Regions from separate parts of the Homo sapiens genome. Here region 2 is linked to region 1. Evidence: promoter capture Hi-C in 16 types of primary human blood cells and fetal thymus (Javierre and others, 2016). All regions are on one chromosome and are shown on one strand. The core of a region is centred on a gene start or on the middle of the fragment in contact, and the rest is flanking DNA. Distances in the headings are between cores, read along the strand shown.

Evidence for each region. The method cuts DNA at HindIII sites, captures the fragments that hold promoters and counts their contacts. A CHiCAGO score of 5 or more calls a contact.
Region 2: a fragment that was not itself captured here is called in contact with the fragment with the promoter of PRKAR1B-AS1 in region 1 in 9 of 17 cell types (endothelial precursors, naive CD4 T cells, M0 macrophages and 6 more); the score reaches 7.6 in endothelial precursors.

The regions. Positions count from the first base shown.
Region 1 is chr7:598,403-604,094 of GRCh38, reverse strand. PRKAR1B-AS1 (PRKAR1B antisense RNA 1) reads right to left here and starts at 1,250. Exons shown (of 2, transcript NR_110054.1): 1 at 798-1,250. The region is part of intron 6 of PRKAR1B (protein kinase cAMP-dependent type I regulatory subunit beta); the gene reads left to right. RefSeq lists enhancers at 1-447, 508-557 and silencers at 1,653-1,712, 2,453-2,562. The HindIII fragment of the contact is 9,643 bases long and covers 1-5,692 here.
Region 2 is chr7:325,505-331,196 of GRCh38, reverse strand. LOC105375118 (a long non-coding RNA gene) reads left to right here. Exons shown (of 3, transcript XR_926965.4): 3 at 1-1,570. Among named protein-coding and RNA genes, the nearest start is that of FOXL3-OT1, 37 kb to the right of the region's middle. The HindIII fragment of the contact is 3,993 bases long and covers 295-4,287 here.

The DNA.
Region 1 (5,692 bases), core at 1-2,500:
CAGCAGATGGGGCAGGGCTGATCCCAGAGAGACCCTGGCAGCCCAGGCCTGCCCAGTGGTCAGCAGTGCTGAAGGCAGAGCCACCTCTGCGGGAGGTATGGGATGGGCAGCTTCCTGACTGGACCCACCGCTTTATCCCAGCCCCAAATCTCATGCTACTACTTATAGCCCCTCTTCTAGTTCACACTCTGGGTCCTGGTGTCACCGTGTCACCTCCTCCCCCGCCCTGTCCATTCTGGGTCCTGGTGTCACCATGTCACCTCCTCCCCCGCCCTCTCCACTCTGGGTCCTGGTGTCACCTCCTCCCCCATCCCCTCCACTCTGGGTCCTGGTGTCACCTCCTCCCCCACCCTCTCCACTCTGGATCCTGGTGTCACCTCCTCCCCCATCCCCTCCACTCTGGGTCCTGGTGTCACCGTGTCACCTCCTCCCCTGCCCTCTCCACTCTGGGTCCTGGTGTCACCTCCTCCCCCATCACCTCCACTCTGGGTCCTGGAGTCATCATGTCGCCTCCTCCCCTGCCGTCTCCTTCCTGGATGTTTATTGAGTGCCTGCTTTATGCCTGGCACTTGTGACGAGGAGGACCTGGTGCCTGCTCTGGTGTGGGGGAGGTTGTGGCTTAATGGGGGAGAGGGACCAAGAACAGGAAATTAGCCAATGAATGTCCTGACTCTGGTTCTGCCCCTCCTGTCCCCTCTGCTTTCATTCCTGCTCTGCCTCACAAACTCCTACACATCCTACAAGACCCCGCCAGGCCCAGCTCATCTATCTGCGGCTGGGCTTTGATAGATACTGACCTCCGCAGATGACCGAGGACCTGCCTCCCTGCGGTGGGCCTGGGAGCTCCATAGGTCCCCACTGAGGCCTTTCCTCCCCTGTGGAATGCTTCTCCCTCTTCTGTGTCTGCCCATGTCATTCAAATCTTCCAGTTAAATTCCAAAGGCATCTTCAAGGTGCCGGTTTGCATCGGCAGGGCTTGGGGTTGAGGCCACCCCCAGGAATTCTGCTTTCCATGTTCTTTGCTTCTCCTAAATGAACAGATGTGGAAGAGACAAACCCTTTACCCAGAGATCCCTTGTGGAGCCTGAAACCGACATGGGGCTCCCAGGTTATGTTCCCGCCTAACTTGTCGTGTCTCGAGGAGGGTGGTGGACGGGTCAGGATCGCGTGGACTCGGGACTCAGAGGACCCAGGCTGTGTTCTTTGCTGGCCGTGACCTTTGCCCAGGCCCTTGTGTGGCTGAGCCGTGCCATTTCCATATTACTCAGAAAAACGAACAGAGCTCACTGCTGCCGGGAAGACTGAGATAACCCTCCTGGGGTTCTGCTCTTGGCCCCTGGTGTGGAAGCCATTGGCCGCCTGGCAGCTGCCCCGCCCCGTCTCATGTCCCCAACACACGCACCGCAAGAGCCTCGTCCACCCCACAGAGGAAACGCCCACCACCCACGCCCCGGGCTTGTCCTCATCTTCAGCGCGGGTGGCCACCCTCCTGCCCCAGCGCCAGGCCCCAGCCGGCAGCATGCTGAGGACTTCCTGGGAGAGGTGAGGGTGTGAGGGGCCGGCGGCTGGGACTGCTGGAGGGATCAGGTCCCTGTCTTTCCGCCGTTGGCCTCCAGGCTCCCGGGAGCCCCACCTGGGCCAGGACCTCGGCAAAGGGGCCGGGAGGTGTTGCTGCCCCGGCTGACCTTGGCGGGACCTCCTCCTCCTCCTCCTCATCCTCGCAGAATCCCCACCCACCCCTCGACCTCTGGACTCAGTGAGGCATCTCCCTTCCCTCCGTCCTTCCAGCAGGACAGACCCCCCCTCCCCCCGCCGCCGTCTGTAACTCCTTCATACATGACAGGGTGGTGGGAGAGGCCGGTGCCGGAGCCACTTCAAAGCAGGGACCGTTTCCTCCAGCCCTGAGCTCACTGGGTCCCCTCCCAGCCCAGCCCCTGCCCTGGCCCAGTTAGCGTGGGGTCGGGGCTGAAGCCTGAGTGGAGGGGAGACGGTTTTCTCTCAGACACGACGCGTCGTGGCGTCCTGCCTGGCTTCTCGCCAGGCCCGGGGACGTTGGGAGGCAATTTTGAGAAAGGAAAGAGTGAGGTCACCCTCGTGTAACTGGAGTTCCCCAAATATATTGTCCTGGCAAATCCCTCCCCTTCCCCCTCCCCATCCCCCTGCCCGTCCCTGCGCCTCCCCCTGCCCGTCCCTACCCCTCCCCAGCCCCCCCGGGTCAGGCACAAAGGCAGCTTTAAGGCCTCTGCTGGACCCGGCCCTCCAGAGCCAGGATGTCTGAGCCCCGTGGGTGGATGCCCACTTCCTGGCTACAGGCTCACGTGGGATGGCCGGGCCCCCTGCGGGAACCGGCTGTGACTTATGGGGCTGTCCCGTGAGTCCCAGGCGGCTGTGCACGAACACCAAGCACCTCCATCAACTTCAGATTTTCCAGCCAGGGCAGGGGTGGGCGTCAGGGAGTGCCCGGCGGGGCCGGGCGGGGCCGGGCGCAGGAGCTGCCTGCAGGGGCCCTCCTGTGATGTGGGAGGCCCTTCGCATGCAGGGTAAATCCGCAGGGCCCGTGTGGGTGAAGGCCACATTTAAGGGAATCAAAGGATGCTCAGTAAGGAATCTGGAATGAAAAAGTGGCATGTTGGGTAGCCCGGGTGAGTTATGGGCATATGTATTATAATAATTACTGTTATTACAGCACCCGGGGGAACGGCCGCATGGCAGCCCCAGGCAGCCCCATCCAGCTGCTGTGTGAACCCTGGGTGCTGCATGTTGTTTGCTGGTTTCTGTAAATCGCCTCCCTGGGGCAATGGGATGGATGTACCCTGGGTTCGGGGCTGCAGGACTACGGCTACCCAGGGTCCGAGTGGGTTTCTGAGGCTAGCGGTTTTCCCTGGTTTTATTCTGCGTGGCGGGAAGGGACGGCCGTTTGCCGTGGGTATTTAACTGCGCTGGCCAAGTGCCGGAGGCCCATCAGGAAGCCGTCCCCTCAAGGACCTGGCCCTGGCCCTTTAAGCCAGCAGAGCTTGGAGGTGGACGTCACCCACTTCTGCAGGGTGGACGCTGCCCTCTGACCAGCAGCGTCCAGGGGGACGGCCAGGTGACAAAATGCCAAGAGCACCAGGTTCAGTTTGAATTACGGTTTTCCAGAGACTCCGAAAGTGCCTGCTGCCGTCCGTGTGTTGCCAAGAGCTATAATCCATTTTTCTAAGTATAAAAATATCTTCCAATGTATTTTATTCATGGAACATAGCATTTCTATTTAAAAGGACACTCAGCTGCTGACTTTGCAGGCCTGGGAACGTAGCTCCCTTCCAAGCCCTGTTTGGGGCTCGACTCTTCCCCTGATTGTTTTTGGGCCCGTTATCCCGACTCCCTCTTTTTGCTCCCCGTCCCAGGCATCACGACGTCCCCACTGACGCTGGCCGTTCCGGGCTTCCCTCGGTTTCACACAACACGTCTGGGGGAAGAGCTCTTTCTGGGGGGCTGGGGAGCACCGCCAGGCAGCTGGGTGTACCCCGGAGCAGGGCGCCTCAGCTTGGTGATCTGATCAGATGTTATTCAGGTTGTGTCTTGTGTTCTGTGTGTTTTTAAAATTCGTTTTTTAATTTTTTGAGATGGGGTCTCGCTCTGTCGCCCAGGCTGGGAGTGCGGTGGCGTGATCATAGCTCATTGCAGCCTTGAACTCCTGGGCTCAAGCGATCCTCCCGAGAAGCTGGGACTACCACTGTGCACCACCACGTCCAGCTAATTTTAAAGTTTTTCATAGAGACGGGGTCTTGCTGTGTTGCCCAGGCTGGTCTCAGACTCCTGGCTTCAAGCAATCCTCCCGCCTGGGCTTCCCAAAGTGCTGTGATGACAGGTATGAGCCACTGCCCTCGGCCCTACTTTAATTGTAGTAAAAGACACACCACACTGACCATTCTAACCATTTTGTGCAGTTCGGTGGCATTAAGAATATTCACGTTGTTTTACAACCGTCACCACTGTCCATTTCCCAAATGTTCTTGTCTTCTTAAACTGAAGCTCTGTCCACATTACACACTCCCTGCCCATGCGCCTCCCCCAGCTCCTGGCACCCCTGTCCCACCATTGACTTCTAAACACAGAGGGTGAGCGAGTGAAGGTGAATGGGGGGCCTGCCCGTGCGCCTCCCCCAGCTCTTGGCACCCCTGTCCCACCATTGACTTCTAAACACAGAGGGTGAGCGAGTGAAGGTGAATGGGGGGCCTGCCCGTGTGCCTCCCCCAGCTCCTGGCACCCCTGTCCCACCATTGACTTCTAAACACAGAGGGTGAGCGAGTGAAGGTGAATGGGGGGCCTGCCCATGTGCCTCCCCCAGCTCCTGGCACCTCTGTCCCACCATTGACTTCTAAACACAGAGGGTGAGCGAGTGAAGGTGGGCAGGGGGCAGGGCAGAGCCAGGTGTGAGCTCGGCGCCAGAGAAGCTGCAGTGATGGTGGGGTGTAAATGCTGCCCCGCGGGGGACCCCCATTGTTTTTTCTTTTAAAAGAAGAGAAGCTGGGCGTGGTGGCTCACGCCTGTAATCCCAGCACTTTGGGAGGCCGAGGTGGGTGGATCACCTGAGGTCAGGAGTTTGAGACCAGCCTGACCAACATGGAGAAACCCCGTCTCTACTAAAAATACAAAATTAGCCGGGCGTGGTGGCAGTTGCCTGTAATCCGGGAGGCTGAGGCGGGAGAATCGCTTGAACCTGGGAGGCAGAGGTTGCGGTGAGCCGAGATCGCACCATTGCACTCCAGCCTGAGGAACAAGAGCGAAACTCCATCTCAAAAAAAAAAAAGAGAGAAAACAAAAAAATGAAACACAACAAGAAGTAGCCCCTTTGCGTACCAGCTGGGGTGGGGCCCGCACTGCGCCGGGAGTGGTGACAGTGGCCAGTGTCCTGAGAAGGATGGCCCCTTTGTCCTCCGGGCGGCCGAGCACAGTGTGGCCCTGGCCGTCTGTGGGACCCGCACAATGGCTTCCTCTGAGGCTGCGGAGGGAGCTCTCGGAGGCCTTGGGCTTCTCCAGGCCTCATGGGCAGCGCGTCCTGGTCCAGCTTCCCTGGGTCCTGCCTGCAGCGGCAGCAGCCACGGATCCCCGCTTTGAGACAGAATCCCAGAAAGCTGGGAGGTGCGGCCGTCCCGGGCTGGCTCTGTGGAGACTCACCCTTCTCTGCTCCCAGAGCCCCCATCCTCTTTGCCAAGGCAGGGGGATGTCCTGCCACTTGCCTGGGCAGCCATTCGAGGGGGTGGTGTCCTCATTCCCTGAAGGGGCCAAGAGGCTCACTCACCTCCTTGGGCACAAGATGTTACCCGCCTCCCTGGCTCTCCCATGTCAAGCAAACCCCTCCCGACCTCAGATTCACATCTTCTGAGTCCACACTGCTTTCGTGGCTCAGCAAGAGGCCCCTGCATCGGAACAGAAGTGCAGAGGGTGCTGGAGGGAGGGTGATAGTGTTTAGTGCGGAGGGTGCTGGAGGGAGGGTGATGATGTTTAGTGTGGAGGGTGATGGTGTTTGGTGCGGAGGGTGCTGGAGGGTGATGGTATCTAGTGTGGAGGGTGCTGGAGGGTGATGGTGTTTAGTGTGGAGGGTGCTGGAGGGTGATGGTGTTTAGTGTGGAGGGTGCTGGAGGGAGGGTGATGGTATTTAGTGTGGAGGGTGCTGGAGGGTGATGGTGTTTAGTGTGGAGGGTGCTGG
Region 2 (5,692 bases), core at 1,042-3,541, 270 kb after region 1:
ATTCCAGGTATGTTTTGAAGGTGAAGCCAACAAGAGTTGCTGACAGATTCAGCGTGGGGATGAGAGGAAAGGAGAGTCTGGGCTGAGCCCAGGGTCTCGCCTAACTAGCTAGAGGGATGAGGCCACGCTGACCCAGTGGGGAGTGGGGAAGGGCAGTGCAGGGAGGACAATGGGGAGTTTGTTCTGAGCATGTCCTGGCTGAGATGCCTGCTGGACTTCAAGCTCAAGAAACCTCTTGGATTTAAATCTAGAGTTGAGAGGAGAGGTTGTCCTTCAGGGGTCCATATGAAAGCTTCAGGTGCTTCCGAGGGATCCTCTGGCATGACAGGTCTGAGCCCGTCTTTCCCTCTCCGGCACTGCAGGGCTCCCGCAGTTCTGCTTAGATTCCTAGCAGCCTCTGCTCAGCCCCTCTGCGCTCACCCTGTGCTGCTTGCAAACAGACACCCTGGACTGTTGGGATCCTTTCCTCTCCCCGGGATCTTGTCTCTCCAAGCCCTGGCTGTGTGAGCAGTCCTGCACTCTGATTCTCGTCTTCCTGCTGGCACGACAGTGTTGAAAGCTCCTCTGAGCTTCTCGGATTCTCAGCAGACCTCCCTGCTCAGCTTCTCAGCATCTCTGCTCATGCCAGTTATGAGTTTGCGGTTGCCCCAAAGGGTGCAGAAGTTCGGGTCACCTCAACGCGTTTCCCTCCCCCACAATGTCTTGGGCCTTCAGGTCCTGGCTGCCTTGGTAACTCTCTGACACATTGAGACACATGTGGTCATTTGTTTTCTCCAACCTGGTTGATGGAAGCCAAAAGTGGACTCCTTTTTATTTTTTTGTTTTTTGACAGGGTCTTTCTCTTTTGCCCAGGCTGGAGTGCAGTGATGCGGTCACAGCTCACTGCAGCCTCAACGTCCTGGGCTGAAGCCATCCTGCCGCCTCAGCCTCTTGAGTATCTGGGAGCACAGGTGTACACCACCATGCCCGGTTAATTTATTTTTGTAGAGACGGTGTCTCGTCATGTTGCCCAGCGTTCCGCCTAGGCCTCCCGAAGTGCTGGGATTGCAGGTGTGAGCCACTGTGCCCAGCCTCCTCGTTTTTCTTACAGTTGTGTTTCACTTTATGGATCTATTATGATTTATATAACAACCTCTTATCAACGGGCTTTTAGGCCATTGTAAATAATGCTGCAGTGAGTAATTTCACACATAGACGGCCTCACCTGTGCGCAATGGTATCTATAGGATAAGCAGAATTGCCGGGCCAAAGGGCAGATGCATTTACATTTTTATTGATGTTGCCAACTTCGTGGCCATAAACGTTGTGCTAACTTGTCCTTTCATCAGCTATGTACGAGAGCGCCTGCTTCCCCACAAGTCTGTCAACATTGAGGGTTGCCTGGCATTTTGCTTTTTGCCAGTCTGACCCGTCATAAAATGGAACCTCCATTTAGTTTCAATTTGTGTTTCCTTGTTACCAGTGTGGTTGGGTGTCTTTCTATGTGTTAAAATGCCAGTTGCCGGCCGGCGCTGTGGCTCACGCCTGTAATCCCAGCACTTTGGGAGGCCAAGACGGGTGGATCACGAGGTTGGGAGATTGAGACCATCCTGGCTAACACGGTGAAACTCCGTCTCTACTAAAAATACAAAATATTAGCCGGGCGTGGTGGCGGGAACATGTAGTCCCAGCTACTCGGGAGGCTGAGGCAGGAGAATGGTGTGAACCCGGGAGGTGGAGCTTGCAGTGAGCCGAGATTGGTCCACTGCCCCCCAGTCTGGGCGACAGAGCGAGACTCTGTCAAAAAAAAAAAAAAAGCCAGTTGCCCATTTAAGTTCTTTACTCATGTTTTGATGAGTTTGCTGGTCTTTATCTCATTGTTTTCAGGAGGGTTTTTTTAAATGTATTTGGGAAAGTAGCATCTTGTCTACCGTATGAGTTGCTAATACCTCTTCCTCAGTTGGTTGGCTATCTGTTAACTTTGGCTTGCAGTATTTTAATATTTTTAAATGTATGTCTTGCATATTTCTTTTCTTTCTTTCTTTTTTTTTAGATGGAGTCTCACTCTGTCTCCAAGGCTGGAGTGCAGTGGCACAACCTCGGCTCACTGCAACCTCCACCTCCCTCATTCAAGTGATTCTCCTGCCTCAGTCTCCCCAGTAGCTGGGATTACAGGCGCATGCCACCACGCCCGGATGATTTTTGTATTTTTAGTAGAGATGGGGTTTCACCATGTTGGCCAGGTTGGTCTTGAACTCCTGACCTCAGGTGATCCGCCTGCCTCGACCTCACAAAGTGCTGGGACTACAGGTGTGAGCCACCACGCCCGACCGATGTCCTGCATATTTCTTATTAGGCTTATTCCTAGAAGTTTGTTGTTTTTGCTACTGCTAAAATATGCTATTTAATGTCATTAACTTTGCTAACTGAGGCCAGAGCTACGGGAAACTAAACGAAGTTAACCAACCAACCGAGCAAATAGCAAGTGCTTACTGAGCCTCTATATCGTCCTCACAATATTGTCGGAATGAAGCTGCCATGTTGGGTGTTGCAGGGACAAGAGAGTAGAAGATTCAATCAATCCTCGCTTTTAAGTTGTTCAAAATTGATTGAAAAAGACATAGAGAGACACAAAGACACAGCCTGGGTGGGGACAGGTGGGCGGCCCCAGGTGAGGGGCAGGCACCGAGGTCATCACGGGCGCTGGCGTTCAGGCCTTCCGGGTGGCAGCAGGGTGGGTTGAAAGGGGACTGTGGCCGACAGGAACATGGGCAGAGGACTGGCCAAGCAATTTCTAAGAGAAAAAAGGAACACCCACGATGAACACAGGAAAAACATACCCTCCTCTCCAGTACTTAAAAAAAAATGACATTTTACTGGCCCAACGAAGTGGCAAAGATTTCCTTCAAGGGTAAAACCTTGGGTAGGAGAGTCTTCAACAGAAACAGAGGCGGAGGGGAATGGCCACCATCCCTCTACGCACCTGTCCGGGCAGCGGGGCAGTGGGCCATGATCCTGAGCGTGTCCTGCGTACCAGGCACCCCGGGCAAGCAACAGAGAACCAGGCAGGTGTGGGAAACCATGTTCTGGCTGGGGAAGCAGACAATACCCAAGTCAGCAAGTGAATATGGGAGCGTGAATTGTGACCAGCATCACCCCACAAGAGGGAATGAACGGGACATTGAGGGAGGGAGTTGTGGGGGACCATGGGGCCGGCGTTTCCCTCACAGAGGGTGATATGAAGGGGAGGTGGCATCTGAGCAGAGAGGTGAAGAATGCAAAGGGGCCGGCCGCGTGGAGACAGCGGGGAGGAGAGGTCCAGGCAGAGAGATTAGAATGAGCCAAGGCTCTGCCTGGGAGCCGTGGCGGGCAGGCGGGCATCTCTCTCTCTCCCCATGGTCTCAGGGCTTCTCCACGTGCGATAGTTTCACAGCACGGTGGCCTCGGAGCATCCAGACGGCTAACTGGACAGCTCGGGGTTGCACGTGCCTGTTCCCAGAGACCAGGCTGACACCGACGCCTCCCGTGACTTCAGACCCCACAAGTCACGCAGATGGTTTCTGCCGTTGCCACAAGCCCACCCTGGAGGCCAGGGCAGGGGCCTGGACCCCACCTTCCTATCAGTCTCTCATAAGAAGAGCCCCTGGCTGGGCTGGGAGATGTCGCTGTGGCCACCATGGGGCAGCCAGTGGGCAGAGTGAAGAGCCAGGCATAGAGGCCGGCAGAGACCCGACAGTGCAGGTGCCTGGCGGGCCGGGATGGGCCAGGTGGACGGGAAGGACAGTGGCTATGAGATTCAAAGCGCCTGCTGAAAGGACTCATCCTGGCTGCCTGTGCGCCAGAGCTGCATGCAAAGGGCAAGGTGGGTGCGGGGAGACTGGGCAGGACCCTGTCTCACAGCTCCTGCTCGGCCCCCTGGCTGAGGTGAGGAGGGCCACACCTGAGGTCCTCCCCTAACAGGGACCACATGTTTCCTCATGCTCTTGGCCAAAATGAGATGACCATCTTGGTGGTGTGTGCGCTGCAAAGTGAGCCTGCCAGGCCAATGGGAATAGATTCAGCAGAATAACACCCAAACGTAATTCAAGCAAAGACAAACATCTCATGTCAGGCTCACGGCATTCAGAGAAACATGGGAGAATTCCTGCCTCCGTGCATGGGCCAATCAGATAGGGCCACTCCTGAGTTGCTCTGTGTTGGGAAATGACCTAATAGCCTTACAGCTTGTTACTGATTAATTTTGTTTGATGTGGGAGGCTGCATGGATTTTTAATAAGGGCTACTTGTAATTGCAAGCCGACTGAAGCTTCCAGAATCATGAAGTGCATTTCAGGGAATTTTGCAAAACACAGGACACAAGGCCTGTGTGCCCAGCACTCCCAGCTGGTAATTACATTCGAGCTGCTGTGTAGAGAGAACCTAGGGGCTCTCGTTAACTAATGACAGGAATTAGGGAGCTATTAGTGCCTGCTGGTGGGACCCGGCTCTTCCCTCATAAATCTCCAGCCCGTTGATATCCTGGCCTCCCAGTGAGTTGGGGTTTTAGTCTGTATATTAGAAAGTGCTGAGAGAGGGGAAACCAAATACAGAGAAAACTTCTAAGTCCCCCAGGCCAAGGGACATGCATGGGCCCCTGACATCTGTGCCAATCTGCTCTGCCCCCTTAAAAGAAGCCGTGACGACAGCCAGGGCGGCCACGCCGGGTACTGGGTCCTGGGTCTGAACATGACAGCTGCCCACTGGTGTATCCACAGCTTCACACGGGGACCAGCGCCCATCTCTGTCTCAACCGCCCCAGGAACAAGCCTTGTTTCTGAGCAGTGGCCACCTCTGTGGGTCTCTGGAAACTTGGCCATAAGTGCCAGCTAGCTGGTGGGAAGGACAGGGAGTGAGTGGGCTGGACACACAGACAGCAGGCCACGCAGTGCCTGGGGTATCCAGGAAAACAGCACAAGGACAGAAACCAGCTACAGGTGCAGATGAGGGGAAGAAATGAGTTAGGAAGCAATGGGCTGCATGGAACAGAAAAGACAAATCAACTGCCTTCACTGAGAGGGAACGGACTGATGCCGGGAGGTCTGGAGGCAGGTGGCGTTCAGGCTTGGCTTGACCCAGCGGCTCAACGAGGCTGTCACGGCCTCAATTTCTTTCCATCTCTGCCCTCTGCATAGTTGGCCTTATTCCAAAGCCAGCTCTTCCTCATGGGCACAAAATAGCTGCTGCAGTGCCAGGCTTCACATCGCATATCCCACCCTGCCCAGGAGAGAGGATGTGTCTGTCCCTGCAGTCTGCATGAGGAGCACCCTGATTGGATGCCTGGGCTATGTGAGAACACGGCCAGGGGAGAGGACTGTGTGAGCACACGGCCAGGGGAGAGGACTGTGTGACGAATGTGAGGGAATCACGGCTCCTTTGGAAGAGGGGTTGTGGGCAGCTTGGCCCAAGCACACAGAGACGGATGGGTGGGGGACGGACGCTTGAACAGTGGAGCCAGAGCTGGAACTCAGGGCCGGATGGAAGGGAGCTTGCCCCTGCACAAGGCATTCAGGTTTTATTTTTAAGATGATCAGGAGCTAGGAATGCTTTCGGCTGGAGGGAGGGAGGTCTATGCAGCTGGAGAGGGGGGAGGTGGGGTGTGGGGGCTGGGGCCAGGAGGTGTGTGGGGCAGAGACAGTGGGTGAAGGGAGAGGGGCTGGGTGGGGCACTGGAAGCC